Regions from separate parts of the Homo sapiens genome. Here regions 1, 2 and 3 are each linked to region 4. Evidence: promoter capture Hi-C in human tissues and cell types (Jung and others, 2019). All regions are on one chromosome and are shown on one strand. Each heading gives the region's core, a stretch centred on a gene start or on the middle of the fragment in contact. The rest is flanking DNA. Distances are from core to core; before and after follow the strand shown.

Region 1 (2,858 bases), core at 86-2,585, 160 kb after region 4:
TTCCTAATCATAAACCCCTAGAATCCTTTATGTTTTCCAACCATTTAAGGACAAAGTACAATCTTTGCCATATAAACAAACTAATCATAAGTTTCTAATCATAAGCCCCTGGAATCCCTAATATTTTCCATCCATTTAAGGACAAACTGCAGTCTTTGCCATGTAAACAAACCAATAAACAAAAAGCAGAAATAAAACTGTAGAATCAAGTCTAGAAGGCTTCAATTACAAGGTCTGATAAAGAATATAAATCCAACTCATTTACTTTGACAAGAATATGATGATGGTACTCTCTTACTCCTCATCTTCAGGGAATGAAGAGATAAATGAAGCTTATATTAATTTTATATTACCAATTTTAATCACTTTTGGAAACAACAACAGCAACACAAACCCCTTGTTAAGTATTCCAAGCTCCGGGACTTATGTTTAAGTATGCAGAACAAAGCAGCAACTCAGGATCTGAAATAATGTTAGATGAGGGATCGCAATGTTGGGTGATCCTTCACTTGAAATCTGAATTCCAATGAAAATTTATTCTTAGATCCCATGTAACTTATTAACAGTTGTAGACAAATGCTCATGAGGACCCAAGGGAAAAGTGCAAGAGTCTGTTCAATTTATTGTGGAGCAAACATGATAAAAATGGCACAACAGACATCAAATTATTGAATGCTTTAAGTCTTTGTTTTGTCCTTCAAGTGCTTCAGGTCACCTAAATAAAGACTAGGATTTCTGGCAATTTTCCATGGAAGTGAAGGAAAGTCCATTTCACAAAGTAAGGGCAAAATAAAACTTAAGCAATCCTACATCCTTTCACCCCATTAGATTTTTTTGAAATATTATCGGTCTGGGAATTCCCCAAATCCAAAATCACACAGTAGGTATATGGGTAGAACAGGTGCTCACAAAACCAACATTGTCGGCCTTGGCGGGGGTCAGTTCTCATTAATGTGAGATGCGTTGCAGTCAAATTTGGCCTTGCAGATACAAAGCCCTGCCTTCTTATGTGTGTATAAACAACATGCCCAATTCTTCTTAGCTCAGGTGACCCCTCTGGAATCATCTACCTGGCAATATCTATCAGATCTGCTTGGTTCCTACTGCATAGGCTACTCCTCTGGCACTCTATCTTTGCCTGCTCTGGTCACCCTTTGCCTAAATGAACCTCTAGGTCTGACTCCTCCTGGACAGGCCCAGTCTCTTGCCAACTACATGTGACAAACTATGGAGTTGAAGACACACAACCACAAATTTGTGGTTCTCAATTCGAAGCTTATAGAATAGTTATTTCCCTTTTTAAATTCAAGTTCAGCTCTTGGGGTATTTAATGTAAAAACAATACAGAGTCAATCTGCTATTCATTCATTTGATAAACATTTTTTGAACACCTGCTATGAGCCAGGCATTGTTCCAGGGGTTGTGGATACATCAGTGAACATTAAAACAAAAATCTCTGCTCTCACAGAGCTTATGTTACAGTGTGTGTGTTTGAGGGGTAGAGGGAAAGGCAATATATAATGAATATAATAAAAAGGTAAATTATATATCTCATATGTTAGAAGATAAGTGCTATAGAAAAAATACAAGGTAGGAGTGCTGGGGGGCGGGGGGTGCTGCAATTTTAATGAGGTAAAAGAGTTACAAGAAATGACACCTATCCTTCAGTTCTTTACTACACAGCTCTTTGGTCTAGTCGGATTGCAAACTCTGTGAAGGTAGGCATGAAATGAGATTCGTCTTTGCTTTCTTGGTACCTGGAAAACAAATGGACCTTAAATAGCTGCTGGAAAAACAAATGCATGCATTCTGTTATTTTTCCAAAGCAATGCTATTTGTAGTAAATGGCATAGATTTACGAGACAGCTGGTTAGGAAATGAGTGTACTATTCGGCATTGAAAAAACAGCATACCTTGGAATCAAATCCTTTCAATTCCACTTCATGGTACTCAAAACTACAATCCTACCACTTTTTCCCTCCTAGAGTTCTGTGGGGATAAGATCCCAAGGAAAATTCATATCACTCTCCCATACTGCTCTTGCAAAGTAAAAATATCCATCAATCAACTTCAAGTGGGAGATATTCTACCTTTTTAAACCAATAGACAAGACAACAGATGAGGCATGGGATCAAGGTGGTGAAGATAGTAGTGTTAGAGGCTCTTGAGGACACAGAGAAGACAAAAATGAAACAGAATATAAAGCATAACCACCTTTATCAAGGCTCTCTATGATGCTTACTCCTGCCTCCCCTCAGCTCCTCCTCCCACTGAAGCCACAGGATAGGCATGGTTCCTTGTCCCACTCAATAATTTTTTGTCTTCTTGAAGCTTGTTACTGTGGTGGCTTTCTGAGTTGCAAATGTCAGCTGATAAGTGTACAAAATAATGTCATTATAAATCATCAGTCCTTCTTCCTGTTGTGGTACTCATACTCTGACACTGGTATGTAATCATGCACATTATTCATTGACTTTCTGAAGAAACATTAATGAAAGCCTACTGTGTGCCTGACCCAGTTTTAAGTGCTTGGGGTTCAGAAGCGAACAAGGACAAAGCCCTTGCCGCCAAGGAGATATTTTTCAAGTGGAGTTAGACAATAAATAGATAAATATATAATATAATGTCAGTTGACAATGAGTACTATGAAGGAATATAGCAAGGTAAAGGAATAGAGAGTGATGGAGGTTTGTATGTGGGTGTGCATGCCACTTTAGAGAAGGCGGATGGGTAAGCAGCCGCTAAGATGGTGCCAAGGATCCCCACCTCCTGGTATTCAGACCCTCATGTACTCGCTCTCAAGTGTGGGCTGGACTTACTGACTCATGTCTAACCAACAGAATAGAGCAGAGGCAATG
Region 2 (3,288 bases), core at 57-2,556, 180 kb after region 4:
ATGGTAAGCTTTATGAGAGATTTAGAGGAAGGGGAGGGTGAAGGGGTTCACAGTGGAGCGATATCAGAAGTGTTGACATTGAATATTAGGCATTTCTATCCTTAAAATATATTTTGGCCACCATCAAAGAAAGGAGGACTCCAGGCTCTTGTAATCTGGTTGGCTCTTTGGCCTTCTTCCCCTCTTCTTTCTTTCCTTTACAATTGCCACCCGATATCTTTAAATTGTATTATGAGGAACTATTTAACTTTCCTTCCTGCTTACAGGGCTAGAGTTCACAGGCCCACCTTCCTCTATCCAAATGCATCTAGGTTTTTAAAAAAGAATCACAGGTCTCATTTCATAGGTTCTCCTCTATTTAGGAAGCAGTGTTGTTTGAAAAAGTAATACATATGTATCTTGCATGTAGAATTAGAAGACTGGGGCAGGCCTACCTAAATTGACCCTGTAGGAGGGCCTGAGAGTCTTACAAAAGACATCCCTTTTAGCTTTCCTGGCACCTGTTTCTTTTCCTCAGAAAATACAAAGCAGTAGGAAAATCTGTGGTTAATAAGTTATTTTGTTTGGTTGGATTCAGAAAAGGTGGCTATTTTGTGTATTAGCCTTCTAAGAAGTTATTAAGAGGAATTTTTTGGCCAGGTGCAGTGACTCACGCTTATAATTCTAGCACTTTGGGAGGCTGAGGCGGGCGATCACGAGGTCAGGAGTTCAAGACCAGCCTGGCCAACACAGTGAAACCCTGTCTCTACTAAAAATACGAAAATTAGCTGGGCGTGGTGGCAGGTGCCTGTAATCCCAGCTACTCAGGAGGCTGAGGCAGGAGAAATCGCTTGAACCCGGGAGCTAGAGGTTTCAGTGAGCTGAGATTGCGCCACTGCGCTCCAGCCTGGGTGATAGAGCTAGACTCCATCTCAAAAAAGGAATTTTTTAACAAGCAAGTGCTCATGACATTACAATAATAAATTGTCCTCTAGTTAGTATGCTTTTAAAGAAGCAGGTGTTGTAGGTTCTATCCTTTAGAATGTGTGCTTCCTAGAGCTGGGATCCTATCTATTTTGCTAACTGCAGAATCCCTAAGTACTTAAACAAATATTAATGTATTGTAAACCAAAAATAAAATTCTAAGCTTCCCCCTCTCCCCAGCCATCTGAATGGACTTCCTCCTCATCCAGGGGTCTTTTAAAATTTAACCTGAGAGACAGTTTCAGGCCATGAGTGGGAAGTGGAGGTCGGACATGACTTGTTATACCTCTCTGACATTAACATTAACATAGACTTTAAGTCCGATAAGAAACGTTTTACTACCACCTATCGAAGCCTACTACCTGAAGGCTTCCTCTGAAAGTAAGAACTTGGGTCTCCACAATCCTTTGTCTTAACCCAGACATTCCTTTCTGTTGATCCCAGGGCTTTAGACAAACTCAACCGACTGTCAACCAGAAAATGTTTAAATTTACCTATGGCTTGGAATGGCACTCCCTGCTACCCCCCCCAACCCCCCACCCCACCCCCGACCCCCTGCAATTGTCCCACCTTTCTGGACCAAACCAATGTATTTCTTAAAATTTTTTGATTGATGTCTCATGCCTCCCTAAAATGTATAAAACCAAGCTGCACCCCTACCATCTTGGGCACATGTTCTTAGGACCTCCTGAAGGCTGTGTCATGGGCCATGGTCACTCAGATTTGGCTCACGATAAATCTCTTCAAATATGTTGCAGAGTTTGACTCTTTTTGTTGACAGCATGCATTAATGAACAAATTGGATCCAAATTGGCTTTGATCTGGCTTGGCTCACAGACTTCTCCAAATCTTTGAAACAGTCATTGGTCAGAGGGAAAGCAAAAGAGAATTGATCCAGTGAGGAAGCTTGAACTGTTCCCTGTTCTTATAGGAATATAGAAGAACTGCAACATTGATGGCTTATGATTAAGCTTCTGTGATGTTGTGAAATATATATATGGTCTTTATCCCTGTTTCCTGGCATACAACTCTCAAATTCCTTGGAATCTGCAAAGCGCTAAGTGTCTTTGTATGCTGATGAGTTGACTGAACAGCTGGCAGCCCCTAGGTAGCTTCAGGATGGGCCCTGGGCACTGGAAAGGCTGGATTAGAGGGTTAGGACTGTCAGCCCCACCACCACCCTCCAGGGAGGGCAGAGGAGCTGAAGGGTAAGCTGATCACCAATGGCCAATGATTTAACCAACCATACCTATGTTATGAAGTCTTCATAAAAGGCCCAAGAGGACAGGGTTCAGAGAGCTTCTGGACAGCTGATCACATGGAGGTTCCTGGAGGGTAACACGCCCCAGAGAGGGCATGGACGCTCCGCACCCCTTCCCCGTACCTCGCCCTGTGCATCTCTTCATCTATATCCTTTGTAATATCTTTTATAATAAACTGGTAAACCTAAGTAAGTGTATCCCTGAGTTCTGTGAGCTGCTCTAGCAAGTTAATTGAACCCAAAGAGGGGTTATGGGAACCCCAAATTGAGGCCAGTCAGTTAGAATTTTCTGAGGCCTGCACTTGCGACTGGTGTCTGGTGGAGAGGGGAGCGGTCTTGGAGACTGAGCCCTCAGCTTTGGGATCTGGGGTTATCTCCAGGTCAGAATTGAATTGAACTAGAGGACACTCAGCTGGTGTCCACTGCTTTGTGTACTGGGGTGTCGGGGGGAGCCCACATTTGGACATAGAAGTATTCTGTGTTGATGACTGTTGTGTTGAATAAGAGAATAGAAAAAAACACTCCTGAGTGTGTTTTTATTTCCTCTCAGTTTCCAAGGCTCTGTTGTCTATCACTTTGTTTTATAGATAAAAGTAAGGTAAGTCTGGGAAATATTTATACCTGCCACCCCCTTCCCCGTTGGGATTTCGGCTACTAATCTTAAAGACTTAATCGTTTATGAGAACCCTTATCATTTAGACCAATAAATAATTACTGAACCCATAAATTGGAGACCTTTACTTAAATCTTATTTCAGTTTTGTGACTTTTTCTTCTTTAGCTGCCCAATGGGTTCTTCCTGCCTACTGCCCAGATAGAGCCAATTTATCAAGGCAGGGAATTGCAATAGAGAAAGAGTTTTTACACACATAGATCTTGCGGAACAGAAGACTGGAATTTTATTATTACCCAGATCAGCCTACCTGAGCATTTGGGGGCTATTTTCAAAGGTAGTCTGGGGGAAGGGGTGGGAGTGGCTAGGCAATGGGTGCTTGCTGCTGATTGGTTGGGGGCACAATCATGGGGGTGTGGGAAATGGTACTCCTATGCTCTGAGTGGCTTCTG
Region 3 (2,876 bases), core at 9-2,508, 220 kb after region 4:
GTTATGCGGCGCAGAATATGATTACTACGACTGTTTGCGGCTTCTCGGTATACAAATCTCACTTGTTTGTTAGAAATTGGTAAGTCTGTAAGTTTCATTGAAATTCATAAGATTTTAGCATCAGCAACAAAGAGTCATTGTATAAAAGTTGCATGGCTGTCATGTGCCTTTGCTCTTGAGCTTTTAGGGTTTACAGGAATCTCTTAATTATTGGTAGAAATAGAGCATTAGCAGTAGTTTGCATAAATTTGATAATTTCACATTTAAGATCACCTTCCTATTTGAATGAAATCCTGCCCTTAACAAATGTGTTTTGATTTGAGAAGAGCAAACATTTTTCTCCTACAGATAAAATATTTATGAAAGATGAACATGTTTAAATAAAACTGCTATTTTTAACTGATTATGTATTAGTGAAATGAAGAATTTTAAGAGACATGGACAGTCTCTATCTTTGAACAGAGAAATAAAGCCTTTGAAAAATATTCTACATGTTGTACTAAATATGTAACATTTTGATTGTTTCTTTGAAATTCTGCCAAGCAACATCAGCTATATAGCATTCCTCCTACGCTCTACCACTCATCTCCAACCCACCCTTAACGATTTAACATTTAAGCCTTTGGTAATTGTAAGTGCTAGTTGTTGTTGTTGTTTTTAAATTGTGTGTTTGTGCCCTAGTTTATGGCAAGGTTCAGAATTACTTTTCCTCTTAAAAATTACAGTTTAATGCCATTATAAAAAGTTTACAATAGAAAACCTTTAAAGAAGCCTCTTTCCTTGCTGAGAACTTTTCTTGTTCATGAGATGGTTATGAAACCTTAAGTTCAAGTTTGTTCAGCCTGTGCCACATGCAGCCCAGGAAGGCTTTTGGGATTATTTTTTTTTTAAGCTTATCAGCTATCATTGATGTTAGTGTATTTTATGTGTGGACCAAGACAATTATTCTTCTTCCCGTGTGGCCCAGGGAAGCCAAAAGATTGGACAACCCTGCTTTAGATGATGGTCCAGGAAAAACTAAATAGAAAAAAAAGGGATCAGGATAGGCTGAGGCATGATTGCACTTTTAAATTCACACTTTAACTTGGAGGGAAGTTTGTGTTTAGCACATTCTTATCAGTATTGTTTTTTCATGTATGGTGTGAAAAAGCAGATATATGTATTTGCAAATCATGTGTATTCTAGTATCCAGAATATATAAAGAACTCTTAGAAATGAAAAGATAAATCCAATTTTAAATGGGCAAAGGATTTGAATAGATAGTTCTCCAAAGATACTCAAGTGGCCAGTAAGCACATGACATGCTCAACATCATTAGTTCATTTTTATATTGGATTATTTGTCTTTTTGCTAAGTTGTAAGAATTTTCTATGTATTCTGGATACTAGACCCTTACCAGATATATGATTTGCATATATTTTCTCCCATTCTGTCAGTTGTCTTTTCACTTTCCTACATCCTTTAAAGAACAAATATCTAATTTTTATGAAGTTCATTGTTGTTTGCTTATGCTTTTGGTGTCATATCTAAGAAAACATTGCCCAATTCAAGGTCACAAAAATTTACATGTACGTTTTCTTCTAAGAGTTTTCTAGTTTTCTCTCTTATAATTCAGTTTTTGATCCATTTGGAATTAATTGCAATGAGAAATCATAATGTGTATTGTTCAATCCTTTAAATTTTATTGAGGCCTTTCTTTTCTTTTTTTTTTTCTGGAGATAGCATCTCGCTCTGTCACCCAGGCTAGAGTGAAGCAGTGCAATCTTGGCTCACTGCAGCCTCCACCTGCTGGGTTCAAGTGACTCTTGTGCCTCAGCATCCGAGTAGCTGGGACTACAGGCGCACTCCACCATGCCCAACTAATTTTTTTTTTTTTTGTGCTTTTAGTAGAGACGGGGTCTTGCCATATTGCACCAGGCTTGTCTCAAACTCCTGAGCTCAGGTGATCCTCCACCTAGGTCTCCCGAAGAGCTAGGATTACAGGCGTGAGCCACCATGCCCAGCCTTGAGGCCTTTTTTAAAATGGCCTAGCACATGGCCTGTCTTGGAAAATGTCCTGTGTGTACTTGGGAATAATGTAAATTCTGCTGTTAATGGATGGAGTGCTCCATATGTCTATTGGGTCTAATTGGTCTATAGTGTTAAAGGGTCTATTTTCTGGTTCCATGTCTAGTTGTTCTGTTAGTATTGAAAGTCGAGTATCAAAAGCTTTATTGTTGATTTGTCTATTTCTCTCTTTGTCATTTTTTACTTACGTATTTTGGGGCCATTGTTTGGTACAATTTCTGTTTATAATTGTCATATCTTGTTATGTTTTTCTGTCTTTTGCTTTATTTATGTCTTTGAATCTGAAGTGTGTCTGTTGTAGACAGTTGGATTATGTTTCTTGTAGCCCATTCTGCCAGTCACTGACTTTTTATTGGGATGTTTCATTCATGTAATTTAATGTAATTACTGATAAGGTAGGCTTTACATTTGCCATTTTGCTGTTTGTTTCTATATGTCTTATTTCTTTTTTCCTCCATTTCTTCCATTTGTGTTAAATATTTTTAATATGCTATTTTAATTCCCGTGTCATTTCTCTTAATTAAAATTATTTTCTTAGTGGTTACCCTGGGGCTTACAATTAACATCCTAGTTTATAGCAGTCTATTTTAAATGAATACCAGCTTCATTTTCACTAATGAATTAGTCAGGGATCTGTAAGGAAATAGAACCAATATATGAGGAGTTGGCTGACATGATTAAGGAGTCTGAAAAATTACACGTTCTGCTCTCTGCACGCTGGCAACCCAGGGAAGTCAGTAGCATAATTCAGACCTTCTCAGTCAGAAGGTCTGAGAACTAGGAGAGCCAGTGATCCCAGTCTGAGGGCA
Region 4 (3,274 bases), core at 567-3,066:
CCAGCCCAGAGAGGGCGGGCTAGGAGGCGCCGGCTGCCAGCAAGGCGCTGCGCCAAGCAGGCTTGCGGGCGGGGGCCGCGGTGCTGCACTGCCCAGGAGGACTCGAGCGCTTACAGTGTTCACAGCTTGGAGTTGGCTTTGGACACGAGCGAGCCCTGGGGCGGGGACGCCATGGTCCAGTCTCTGCCAAGCTCTCAGCCCTGCCCAGGCCCGGGACCTCTGCAAAGCAGTGCCAAATCCATGCCAGGCAGTGGTTTGGCTGCGGGTGCCTGGGAATCAGCGCTGAGTCCCAGGACTAGTCTCCGAGGCGCAGGGAGGTCTTGGGGTGGGCGACCTAGGGAGACACGCGCCTAGGGAGTGACCGTAAGATCCCGGTCGTCCTTCCCTGAGGAGGACGGAGACATGGGCAATTCGTCGTCATCCTCGGAGCACTTGGCTGAGGAGAGCGATGCGCACTTGCAGCCTTGCGGTGCGCTCCCGCCACCACCGGCACCCCCGCCGCCGCCGCCACGATGGTTGCTGCCCTTGCCCTCCTTCTTGTGCTTCACTCGGCGGTTCTGAAACCAGATCTTCACCTGCTTCTCGGACAGATTCAGGTAGGTCGCGATCTCGATGCGACGTAGGCGGGACAGGTACATATTAGAAGCGAACTCGCGCTCCAGCTCTAGCAGCTGCGTGCTGGTGAAAGCCGTGCGCATCCTCTTGCTGCTGGGCAGCTGGTTAGAGCTGCTGTCTGGAGGTGGCAGAGCAGAGAAGGAAGCGATCAGACCTCTGTGCTGTGGACCCAATCCCTTGGTAGGCGGTCGCCAGAATCCTACGACTTTGACCTCTTACCCATCTCTTCGCCCCAACACAATCCACAGCAGAGCTACAGTGAGCGCTCCTTGTCCAGCTCCGAGATCCTGATTCTCCCGGAGTCATGCAGCCCTGGAACCCCTTCCCCTTCATGGAGAGCCTTGGATCCCAGCCCTCACTTACCCCGGCCCACACTCCAGGACCTGGACGTCTGCCCTCATCCGCCTCCTGGCGTTGTGTCCCGGCCCTCTATCCTCACTCCACCCCAAGCGCCCCCCTTAGTCCCCGACATGACCCTCACCGCCCCCAGAAAGCCCAGGGTCCCTCTTCCTCCATCTCTGGCTCTCCATCCTGCTTCGGATCACCTCTGCCCGGTCCCTCTGCGCGGCGGCCCCGCTTACCCACAGAGATGCAGTGGAACTGCCTGGGGTCAGGCAGCGGGTAGGAGGTCTGGTAGAGCGCGGCGGCAGCAGCAGCGGCGGCCGGGCCGTGAGCGACCCCGGGCGACACAGCAGAGTGCTGGCGGCCCAGGGGCGCGTGGCAGTACTGCGAGCCGAAGGGTGGGAAGGAAGCCTTGAGTAGAGGCAGCGCGGGCGGCCCGGGGGGCCCATGCAGCTGCGAGGCGGTGACGCAGAGCGGGCACACGCACAGCAGCCCAGCCTTGCGCGCGTGGCAGGCGCCAGGCGAGAGACCGTGCAGCGCGTGCGGCGGGGGCACAGCGTAGGGGAAGAGCGGCGGCGGGCTGCCCTCGGGCGCCTTCTTCTCGCCCGCCTCGCGCAGCACTAGCGAGTCCACCAGGAAGGAGCGCGGCATGGCCCCGGCGCGCGGTCGCCCCGCAGCCAGCCCGCCCTCTGCGCCCACCGCACCTTTCGGCTCTCCACGCGCTTTCCCTGGCCGCGGTATCCCGCAGCTGCCTCTGCCCAGGAGGCTGAACGCGCGGCTGAGACCTAGGCTGAAACAGTAGCCTCTGCTGCCGTGGGCACCGCCCAAAGAGCGCGGGGTGCTGGCCAGCGCTAGTGGTGCTGAAAGGCGCCGGCGGCGCGGCTTAAATAGGACTATTGCCATGTGATGGACTACGCCAGGAGCGGCCGGGGCCTCTCAATAGGGTTTTTGTGCCTTTTCTCTTGGCATTCACTCTGCACGCTTCCTCATTATTTCACTTGTTAACTAAATGAACTGCATAATGTACTCTATTCTTGTCAACCCCACCCACGCCGTAACAGGCGCCCTCGCCCCCTCCTCTCCCTTTTGCGGGTTTATTTTCTCATTCTCCCGCGATTTAATATTCTTTCCTTTCTCTTTATTTCTTACTCCCCTTTGGCTTTGCATTGGCCATCAGCCCGTTCACCTTACTGATTTTGCACCCCCGCGGCCTCTCTTCTACAGATCCCCATGGGCGCACACCCTCATATCCTCTGTCCACTTGGTCCTGGTCCCCTTCTTTCTATTATCGCCCTTACACCCCAAAAGTATGCTGTCTCCAGTCAGCCCTGTCAGCTCAGTGCCGTGCACCCCCGAACCTCCCTCCAGCCGGTCTCAGATTTTCCACCTGTGGAATCGCTTCTCTCTCTGCGTCGGAAGAAGGAGGACCGGGTTCCCGCGTGAAGGAGGCGTCTGTGGGGAGGGAGGAGAAGGGCTCATTATTCCTTATCCAGCCCTAGACCCATCGCTGTCCCTCGGTTTTCTCTAAGTTTCTCAAATAGTCTTAATTTTGGTGCTGCCTACGACGCCCAGTCTTTGTTCGGTAGATGCTGGCCAACCAGCCCTTTCCTTCAAATGACAGGGCCGTGGATGTAAAAGAGGAAAAACAGTCTCTGAGCGTTACGAACAGAGACAGGGAATGGGGAATGAAAGCCGAGATGGCGCAGATCTAGATCTCGCACCCCAGCACATGTGGCGAGTGCGGACTGTCTGCCCGCGCATCTTGCCCACACCCTGTCTACTGGAGCACACTTCCAGCAGTGCGCTGGGAAACCGCTGCCATCTCTTAGTTTGGAACGGCGCGAAGGGCGGTTGTATTCCTGGCATCGGCTGCCTTTGCCCACCCTGACCCGCCTCCGCTCTCCCCAAGACCCGGCTTCTTCTTCCTGCCGCGTCACTCTTCTTTCTGGTCACACAATGGTTAAACAACTTCAAACGCTCAGAGCTGTGTACACAGCTCCAGCTTTTTAAATCGTTCTCGGGCTCAAAGCTGTTTCGCCCAGGAGCTTTTTCCATACAATGGGAAATCAGCATAAACATTTCTAATTTACAGCCCGGGACTTTTCACAGGAGACGTTTACTTTCGATTTTATTGGAACCAAATCGCTGCAGTCACCTGCTCTGAGCCCTGAATGGAATTGTGAGAAATGGAGGGGGAAGCTTAGGGGTCTGGGGAAGCAGTGCGCAGGAATAAGATTGCCCAAACCCGAAGCATCTGCATGGGCTTTTATCCTTGGCAACATCTTTGCAATAACAACAGCAACAGATTATAACTGAT

What was found. Contacts are between HindIII fragments. The study calls those that stand out against the background at their distance.
Region 1: a fragment that was not itself captured here is called in contact with the fragment with the promoter of GSX1 in region 4 in 1 of the 25 tissues and cell types used here (aorta).
Region 2: a fragment that was not itself captured here is called in contact with the fragment with the promoter of GSX1 in region 4 in 2 of the 25 tissues and cell types used here (mesenchymal stem cells and pancreas).
Region 3: a contact is called between a fragment that was not itself captured here and the fragment with the promoter of GSX1 in region 4, in 4 of the 25 tissues and cell types used here (H1 embryonic stem cells, adrenal gland, heart left ventricle and 1 more).

What each region holds. Positions count from the first base shown.
Region 1 is chr13:27,631,398-27,634,255 of GRCh38, reverse strand. It overlaps a transcript of POLR1D not described here. Among named protein-coding and RNA genes, the nearest start is that of POLR1D, 11 kb to the right of the region's middle. The HindIII fragment of the contact is 4,158 bases long and covers 1-2,858 here.
Region 2 is chr13:27,614,393-27,617,680 of GRCh38, reverse strand. All of the region lies in intron 1 of LNX2 (ligand of numb-protein X 2), which reads left to right. Among named protein-coding and RNA genes, the nearest start is that of LNX2, 4.5 kb to the left of the region's middle. The HindIII fragment of the contact is 4,182 bases long and covers 1-3,288 here.
Region 3 is chr13:27,575,564-27,578,439 of GRCh38, reverse strand. All of the region lies in intron 2 of LNX2 (ligand of numb-protein X 2), which reads left to right. Among named protein-coding and RNA genes, the nearest start is that of LNX2, 44 kb to the left of the region's middle. The HindIII fragment of the contact is 3,423 bases long and covers 1-2,876 here.
Region 4 is chr13:27,791,025-27,794,298 of GRCh38, reverse strand. GSX1 (GS homeobox 1) reads right to left here and starts at 1,816. Exons shown (of 2, transcript NM_145657.3): 1 at 1,197-1,816; 2 at 1-733. The coding sequence starts at 1,608. The coding sequence ends at 351. RefSeq lists an enhancer at 1,086-1,889. The HindIII fragment of the contact is 15,189 bases long and covers 1-3,274 here.